2 separate regions of the Homo sapiens genome follow, and region 2 is linked to region 1. Evidence: promoter capture Hi-C in human tissues and cell types (Jung and others, 2019). All regions are on one chromosome and are shown on one strand. The core of a region is centred on a gene start or on the middle of the fragment in contact, and the rest is flanking DNA. Distances in the headings are between cores, read along the strand shown.

Region 1 (4,463 bases), core at 1,351-3,850:
TCTGGCGGCTTGCCCTCCCTCCAGGTGTGTGGGACCACTTATGTGGACGCTGGAATGTGCTAGGAGGACAGGGCCCAAGCTGGGACTGCTGCCCCCGCCTTACCCTGACACAGACTCTGGGGACGTCGTGGGGGCGGATTCCTCTGATGGGCTCTTGTCCTCTCTGGCGGCAGGTGGGGGATGGGACATGCCTGAGGTGGGGGCAGGCGGGAAGGATGTAGAGGACTCTGGGGCAGCTGTGGGTGAGGCCTCTGGGGGTGCTGAGGTACCCTGGCCGGCTTTGGTCTGCAACAGCAAGAAAAAGGGAGCTGGCATCAGCAACCCTATCAGACCCAACAACCCGCTCCGCTGTGGCCCCGCCCTGTTCACAGCTAATCTCTCCTGGGCACACAGGCTCTTTGCCAGCTCCCCAGCTCGTCCACCCACCCTCCCAGCCAGCACACGTCACCCACCTTGGTCACCATGACGACCACAAAGTTCTTCTCATCGATGCGATAGTCCCTGATAGGGACATCGTCACTCAAGATCTTGCCGGCATAGATGAGTTTCTGTCCAGCCACGGGGAAGGCATCACGACCCTTCTCAGCTTCTATCTTCTCCTTTAGCACCTTCACCTAGAGGGAGTGGTACAGACAGTCACTGGAGACCCCAAGATTCTCTTTTCCCTTCTAGTTTAGGACAGAGAAACTGCCAGCCCTGATGGCAGAAAGGCAAGCACGCTGGGTTTTTTAAGCTTTCTCAGCATCTAAAGCATGCTAGATTTGAATTCATTCAATCATCATGCCATTCAACACAGTATTTACTTATACTAAACACCCATTATGTGCCAGGTGCTGTTTTAGACACAGAGGCCACAGCACAGAACAAACTCAACACAAGTAAGTCCCTGCTCTCAATGAGAGAACACTAATGTGAAGAAAATGTAATTTCGGGTAGTATAAAGTATAATTAACAGAATAAAGGGGACAGTCCCCCACTCTACACTCTACCTTGGACAATAAGTGACTAATAGTTAATAGTGATATTTTTTAATTTTAAGAGGCAGGATCTCGCTGCCGCCCATGCTGGATTGATGTGGCACGATCATCGCTGACTGCAGCCTCAAACTCCTGGGCTCAACTGGTACTCTTGTCCAGCCTTGGGAGTAGCTAGGACTAAAGGTACACACCACCACTCCAGACTAATTAAAAATAATTTTTTTTTGTAGATAAGAGTCTCCCTATGTTAGACTGGCTGGTCTCAAACTCCTGGCCTCAAGCAATCCTCCTGCCTCTGCCTCCCAAATCATCAGGATTAGAGGCATGAGCCACCGTGCCTGGCCAATAGTGCTACTGTAAATGTATATGTGTCATACCTTTTAAGTTTCCTATGAAATACGTTTAATTGGTCTCATTTTATTTATTGATTTTTGTTTCTTTTTTTTGTAGAGAACGGGGTCTCACTGTGTTGCCAGGATGATCTCGAATTCCTAGGCTCAAGGGCTCCTCTTCCCTCTGCCTCCCTAAGTGCTGGGATTACAGGCGGAAGCCAGCAGGCGACCGGTTCATTTGATATTTGAGAAAACGGAGGCACAGACAGGTAGGCAGGTTAACTTGCCCAAAGCCAAACACTTGAGCGGATCAAAAAATGTGTGTTTCCTTTTCTACAAAAAGTGGACTTCAATGTCTCCCTCACTATGCAAAAAGCGCCAAGTACCCAATAGACATTCAGTATGTTTGAATTAGGTCCTAATTCTACTTTTGACTAAAAAGGCAGCATAATATTTATATCGTGGACGCTCACACGAGGCAGAACCGAATTTGAATCCCAGCTCTGCCATTACTTGTGTGTGACTGTGGCAAAGTTCCTCAATCCCTAGGTTTCCACATCTGTAAAATGATCAGAGGTCCCCAATGACAAGCCCGTTTTGCAGAGCGGTAAAACAACACTACAACACTCGGTGACTGATAAAAAGTAAACGGCCAACAAACACGGACCACCAAAATTATAAAGACTGAGACCCGTTTATTATCATTAACATCGTTGTTGTCGTCACTACTCAGTATCTCCTGGTCATTACTCCTAGATTCGACCACCAGTGTCCCAAGGAGACGCCTGCAAAGCTGGGAACGTGGAGCCCAGTCTTGGAGAGCTTGGCCTGCCCAGGAATCCGAGCTTGTGACTCCCGCGCCCCGCGAGAGCGCTGACATTGGAGCCGGGGCCTGGCCAGCGCCCCGGGGGTGGGGCCTCGCCCGGAGACCGGCGCAGGAGCGCCGCCCGATCGGCTGGGGGCTGGGCCAAAGACCATCGGGGGGTCCAGGAAAGTCGGGCAGGTCGGGGGTCTGGGCAGGGCCGACCCGCGCCGTCCTCCCTGCCCCTCCCGTTGGGATTCTAGCCTCCCCGCCCCCACCCCACCCCCGAAACCCGTCGCTCCCGCCCCCGGGCTCCGGCCCGGCCCGCACCGTCTCGTCAGGCTCCATGCGGATCTTGAAGGTCTGCTGCTGCAGCGTTTTGAGCGTGATGGTGACGGCCATGGCGGGGCCCGAGCGACGCGGCGGCCCCGGGATCCTCACACAACATGCAACTCACGCCGCCGCCATCTTAGCGCCCAGGCGCGCCGCGCCGCGCGCCGACCACTTCCGGGGCAGGCAATGCGCGCGCTGACCACCGGCGCACGTGACCTGCGCACTCCCTCCTTGGCCTTTGTGGGCATGCGCACGAGCGCGTTCTCGAGCGAGGCACGCGCAGACTAAACTCCGCGCTGTGGGCGGGGCTTCTTGCTCGGCCCGCACACGTGGTCTCCTGAGTGACGCCATGCCCGTTATCGGTGACGTCACGGGGCTGCAAAGTGACTCTGGTGTCCCCACTCTCACGCTCAAATGAATTTTTAACAAAGTTTTTATGTACCTGTACTGGTTACAGACATTTGTATTTCTTCTGTAAAAACCTCATTTTGCCTCTTCCAAATGAGAATTTTTTCTTTCAAACAGTCTCTGTCACCCAGGCTGGAGTGCAGTGGCGCGATCTCGGCTCACTGCAGCTTCCGCCTTCCGGGTTCATGCAATTCTCCTGCCTCAGCCTCCCGAGTAACTGGGATTACAGGCACCCCCCACCACGCCCGGATAATTTTTTGTATTGGGTTTCACCGTGTTGGCCAGGCTGGTCTCAAAACTCCTGACCTCAGGTGATCCACCCGCCTCGGCCTCCCAAAGTGCTGGGATTACAGGCGTGAACCACCGTACCCGGCCCCCAAATGAGTTTTATTCTGGTCTGGGTATCCTGGCAGGAACCCTTGTAGAGCAGTCAAAGTGAAAGTTACTCAAAACTAGAAATACCTGAAAGGCCACCAAGCACAGAAAAAAAACCTTAAGTTGGAAGCGGGGGCAAGGTGCCATTTTGTAGCCTCATTCATTCTTTAGGGATCTGGAGTTTTGGAATGAACCTACAATTTTCATTCTTGGGTCTCCGGGCAGGAGTACTTTGTTGTACTATACCTAATCTGACCCCAGAAGTATTTAAAGATGTTAACTTTCAAAGCCTCACTACATTAAATACAGAATTCTCCCTTGGATCTACCAGTCCTGGAGGCATCCCAGAGGGGTTGGGCTGAGCCACAGGACCCCAAAGGAATAGAAGCATGAAAAAGGCCAGTTTAAGGGGCAGGGTGAACCAGATTGAGCCACTGTACGCCAGCCTGGACAACAGAGCGAGAGTCTATCTTAAAAATAAATAAATAAGCAGAACCAAAACTTACCAGTTAGGTTCAAGGATTCAGTAAGTTAGTATGTGGAGTATTTACAGCAGCAACAGCCATTCCCCCGTTGGTTTTGAGGGTTATGGGGTAAATAAGGGTCCCTGGAATCTTGTGGAACACTCAGCAACCTCTCTAGCAATAGCTGAAAAAGGAGATATACTGGAAACCCCCCCCCCCCCCAAAAAGACCACTGCTGGGTTTCCTTAAGTCTGTCTTTCCCCAGAAGGAGACACAGGAGGGAGACACAAAATTTAATTTAATAGAAATTTTGTTTGTAGTTCTTACATTCTCAGTGTGAGCCAATCTGGGACCCACTGCCCCACCCAGAAGTGGCCCAGTCCTGGGGGCAGGGGAGAAAGGGAGGGGTGAAATGAGAAGAGCCCCGTTCTTCCTCAGTGCTGGGGGGTTGGAGACACCACCCCCTTCTGCTGCCCTCCTCTGGGCTCCAGGAAGGAGAGCAGATGAAATCTCAGGCCTGTGGCTTCTCCACACCACTGCCCCCCAGGTTGGAGGGGAGCTAAGAGATGAGAGAAGGGGACAGAGGCAAGAAAAGATGTTGATCAAGAAAGATGAGAACCAGGGGTGAGGGCTGAAGGAGAATCAAAGATAAAATACCAGTTTAAAAAAAAAAAAAAAAAAGGGCGGGGAGGGGGTGGGGGAGAGTGGAGGAGGGGAACAAAACCAAAATCCACCCCAAATCCGAACCAGCCTGGAAAAAAATGAAAGTTCT
Region 2 (4,463 bases), core at 1,190-3,689, 190 kb after region 1:
TGGTGGCGCACCTGTAGTCTCAGCTATTCAGGAGGCTGAGGCAGAAGAATCACTTGAACCCGGGAGGCGGAGGTTGCAGTGAGCTGAGATCGCACCATTGCACTCCAGCTTGGGCAACAGAGCGAGACTCCATCTCAAAAAAAAAAAAAAAAAAAAAAAAAAAAAAAGGCAGAGCAGCCCTTTGGGTCACTGGCTACTTGGGAGTCACCTCAGATGTGACATTGGGATCCCAGTATGGGGATAGAGGCACAGAGCCCATGTTAGGGGCACGTGGGCAGACTGTTGCTTGCTGTGAAGGCATAGGGACCTAAAACAAGGGGAGAGGGGCCTGGTTTGTGGGGGTGTACATCAGAGACATCTGGTCAGGCTTGTCACAGTAGCCACACCCGGCCCCTGAGCCAGGAACTTCTGAAGGGGTTGGGGACAGGGTCTACATCAGGGAGCCTTGGGCAGGCTAGGGTCACTTGTGGTCACTAGGGGTCCAAGACTTGTCAGAGAAATGCCCCCAGGCTGGAATTGAGAGGATGGAGTCCTATGGGGTCCCTGGAGGGTTAGGGGTTTGTCCCCCCTAATAACACAACAGACACTGGTGAGAATCCCCAGGGTGACCAGGAATAAGTCCTGTGTGTGAGATGGAGCTCTCCTGGGGGCACCTCAGGGGGCACTGTGACCCCAGGTGACACCCCAGGTCTCAGAGTGTAGAGCCACATCTGGCATCTTCATGATATGGATCCAAAAATGGGTGGGCAGTGCTGTCGGGGTTGGATTTGAGGGGGGGGATCTCAGAGGGGCAGGAATGGGGGCTCCTCAAAAGGCATGAATGGATATGGGTTTCTCAGGGACATGGGAACGGGGGACTTGGGGTTGGACCGCACCAAGCACGAAGGAGACAGGGATGAGGCTGGCATACTGGTCACAATAAATCACAAGCTTCTCGAAGTAGCGCTTCTGCCCTTCGGTCAGCACAAAGCTGCGGGATAGAGATGAGGGGTCACAGGTCACAAGGGTGACTCCATCCCCAGCTTCAGATCTCTCTTGCTGTGCCCCTCACCCTGGCTTCTTTTATAATAGCTGCCCCCAGCCGGGTGCTATGGGTCACACCTGTAATCCCAGCACTTTGGGAGGCCGAGGCAGGAGGATCACTTGAGGTCAGAAGTTTGAGACCAGCCTGGTCAACACGGTGAAACCCCATCTCTACTAAAAATACAAAAAAATTAGCCAGGCATGGTGGCTGGCACCCATAATCCCAGCTACTCGGGAGGCTGAGGCAGGAGAATCGCTTGAACCCGGGAGGCAGAGGTGGAAGTAAGAGAAGATTATGCCACTGCACTCCAGCCTGGGTGACAGAGTGAGACTCCATCTCAGTTTAAAAAACATAGATATATATACTTATATATCTCTATATTTTTATAATTTTTATATATTATATATATATAATAGCTGCCCCCCCTCCGCTAGAACATGAGCACCTCAGGGCAGCCTCACCGGTAGGCAGCACTCAGCGCCATGTAGAACCCAAGGAAGCAGAGCAGCTCTCGCCACAGGAGTTTGTAGATGCTCCCACGCCACAGTAGCAGCAGCTGGGAGAAGCCACCGAAGCGGGCGTTCGCCACTCGGGCTGTGTAGGTGACGGTCATCGTGGCACCCGGCAGGTGTGGCCAAGGGAGAGTGGGTGGCCCGGGTGGGGGCTGCGGGTGTGGGTGGAGAGGTGCGGGGATAACTGAGCACAGGGATTCCACCCATGTTCCGGCCCGCCACCCCTTCAGTCCTGACCCTTGCCTGAGTTGCCTTCTCCTCCCAGCTTTACTCAGTCTAGTCCAGCCCCCAGTGCCCCTCCCTGACCTTCATCTCAGGCTGTCCCCTTCCCTGGACTCCTGGCCGTGGGCTCTGGTAACTGCCGTCCCCCACCACCAAGACCCTTGAGTCCCTGCAGTCAGCTCCCGAGTCACCCTCTGCCCGATCCCCTTCACCCAGAGGCCACCTGTAGCATGCCCCATTCCGCAAGTCCCCAGCACCTGAGTTTCTAGGTTCTCAAGGCTCCACCTCTCCCAAATTCTCTCCCTCAGCCCCTATTTCTGGCTCCCCCTTCTCCACTTCCCCAGCTCCCAGTCTTGACCCATTCTGCTCCCTGCACTCCCTCTGAAGCCCTGTCCCTAAGCCTCCAGGTCCCCTAGCCCCCCTGCCCCAGCCTGTGCACCTTCTGCTTAATTGCCCTGGCTCCCCCCACTCCCTTTTCCTCCCGGATCCGCCTTGACCTTTCCTCTCTCCGTTCCCCTCCAGCCTTCCAAGCCCTCCACTCCCCGCCCCGGGAGGACTCCGGATGCATTCCTGCCCGCAGGTTCCCTCTTCCCTCAGGGCCCCCTATTTCCCCAAGCCTGGGCTCATCTCACCTGTGTTGAAGGTGGCCGGTGCAAGGACCCACAGGGACAGGGATGGAATGGGCGGGTGGCTTTGGCGTTGGGTGGGGCTGGGGAGTGGGCGTGCCTCCCTTTCCTGGTCCTCCTCCCTCGGCTAGGCTGTAGCTTCAGAATTTTGTTTGGAGTCCCACAAGTTTGTTACCTGGTACGGGGGGAGAAATCCGCCTTGTCCTCCCTCGCCCCTCCCTGTTCCCCTCCCAGTCGCTCACTGGCAGGTCCTAGGGATCTGGAACCCAGAGGTTGGGGGAGGAGGCAGGGATGGTCTTTTTCCCAGTCCCAGAAACACACACACTGCTCAGTGAGGCTGGGTCACTTCACAGTCACCTGTAATCACACAGTGTCACAGAGATGCACGCAGAAACACACATCATAGTCCCAGAAGCAAATCTAGCTGCTCTTAAGACAGCCTCAGCCAGGCACGATGGCTCACACTTGTAATTTTAGCACTTTGGGAGGCTTAGGTGGGAGGATCACTTGAGCCAGGAGTTCGAGACCAGCCTGGGCAACATAGGGAGATCCCCATCTCTATTGAAAAAACAAAAAGACAGCCTCACATAACTATGGTTACCCAGAGGAGCAGTACACACTGTCACAGAACCTTCCAGGGTCACACAAGACACACCTACCTCGACCCCTCCTGCCTCCATCACGCATATATAAGGCAGGTGGACCCTGACATACTAGGCTCTCCTCTTTCATACACACGGCTCTCCCAACGGTCTGAATTCCGTCATGATCACGCCATGTAACAAAGACACCCACACAACCAGCCAAGTGCCAGACCCCACCCAGACCTCAGAATGCCTTCACACACACAGTCATACTCCACTGCAAGGAGGTTTTACTCCCGATCTTCCCTGTGCAAAGATGCAGCCATGATCACACACCAAATGCAAAAACCCTTTCCTCAGTGCGGTGGCACACAATCCCAGGCTCAGAGCGGGGCCTGAGGTTCACCAATCTTGCAAAGACACACACAACAGCCACCCCTCCCTCAAGGGTCCCCTAGCTATCACCGCTGGTGAAATTCACCAGCATTTGTACACCAATATGTGAAGGCAACCCCCTTTCCAACGCTCCCTCCCGGCGGCAGGCCCACACCCACACCCACAGGTCTCAGATACTCTCAGCATTGCCATGAACACACAAGCTTGGGGACACAAAACCTTGTCCTGCATTTGGCATGGATTCTGGGCAGATGTTCATTCTTCACAGACACACCTCTAAAGGGGACACTCCCAGCCTGGTACAAACAGTACCCACTCCCCCTCCATTGCCCAGCCTGAAGAACATTAACACACAGATTGGTGTGGGAGGGGCAGAAGTTCAGGGGTCAAACCCTGGGATGGGCATCCTAGAGTGCTCAGGAGCCCCTCGTGCATTCTACATAGCCCCGCCCGAGGTTCCAAGCCCAGCAGGCTGGGACGCCGTGTTCCCAGACTGGCAGATGTTCACCCTGCCCGGAGTAATTAGGAACCCGCCTGGGCTGGTCACCCTGTGACCCATGCCTTCGCTGTCCAGCTGCCGGACAGCCCATAAATGGGGGCGAGGGGGCAGCTGGGGCGGTGCCGTCAGCTGCGGAACCTGGCAAGGCGGTGGCAGGCTCGGTGCTGATGAGCTCAGTTCTCGATCAGCAGCCCTCACTCCCTAGGAAGTGTCCTTGCATTCACTGAAGCCCGCTCCTCCTTTTCATCCTCCCTACCCCAGCTCACCCGCATCCCCACACACTTCCGACTGCTGAATTCCCGCAGGGGCTGGGGGCAGGCTTCCTGGGCTATTTGATATGCTTACTAATTGTGACAACGAAAAATAACAAACATTTCTTGCGGTTTCCTGTCTGGTGCTGGTATAAACGCCTTGCGTGTTTCATCTCATGGAATCCTTACGGGCATGCTAAGTTGGTCATCTTACTATCTAAGTAGGGAAACTGAGGCTCCGATGTCACATCTCATCTTGTTCGTAGCACAGCTGGGATTTGGATCCTGGCAGTTTGGCGCGGAGCCGGCTGTACCATCGTGTTTGTTTACACATGCCACCCCAACAGGC

Evidence for each region. The method cuts DNA at HindIII sites, captures the fragments that hold promoters and counts their contacts. A contact is called where the count stands out against the background at its distance.
Region 2: the fragment with the promoter of BEST2 here is called in contact with the fragment with the promoter of RAD23A in region 1 in 1 of the 25 tissues and cell types used here (spleen).

The regions. Positions count from the first base shown.
Region 1 is chr19:12,943,999-12,948,461 of GRCh38, reverse strand. It overlaps RAD23A (RAD23 nucleotide excision repair protein A), which reads right to left and starts at 2,600. Exons shown (of 9, transcript NM_005053.4): 1 at 2,442-2,600; 2 at 453-614; 3 at 104-285. The coding sequence starts at 2,513. It overlaps CALR (calreticulin), which reads right to left. Exons shown (of 9, transcript NM_004343.4): 9 at 3,973-4,463. RefSeq lists enhancers at 1-1,183, 2,499-2,718, 2,130-2,822 and silencers at 1,813-2,107, 2,079-2,138, 2,159-2,348, 2,359-2,438. The HindIII fragment of the contact is 31,996 bases long and covers 1-4,463 here.
Region 2 is chr19:12,749,767-12,754,229 of GRCh38, reverse strand. BEST2 (bestrophin 2) reads right to left here and starts at 2,439. Exons shown (of 10, transcript NM_017682.3): 1 at 2,391-2,439; 2 at 1,486-1,688; 3 at 876-970. The coding sequence starts at 1,637. The HindIII fragment of the contact is 8,475 bases long and covers 1-4,463 here.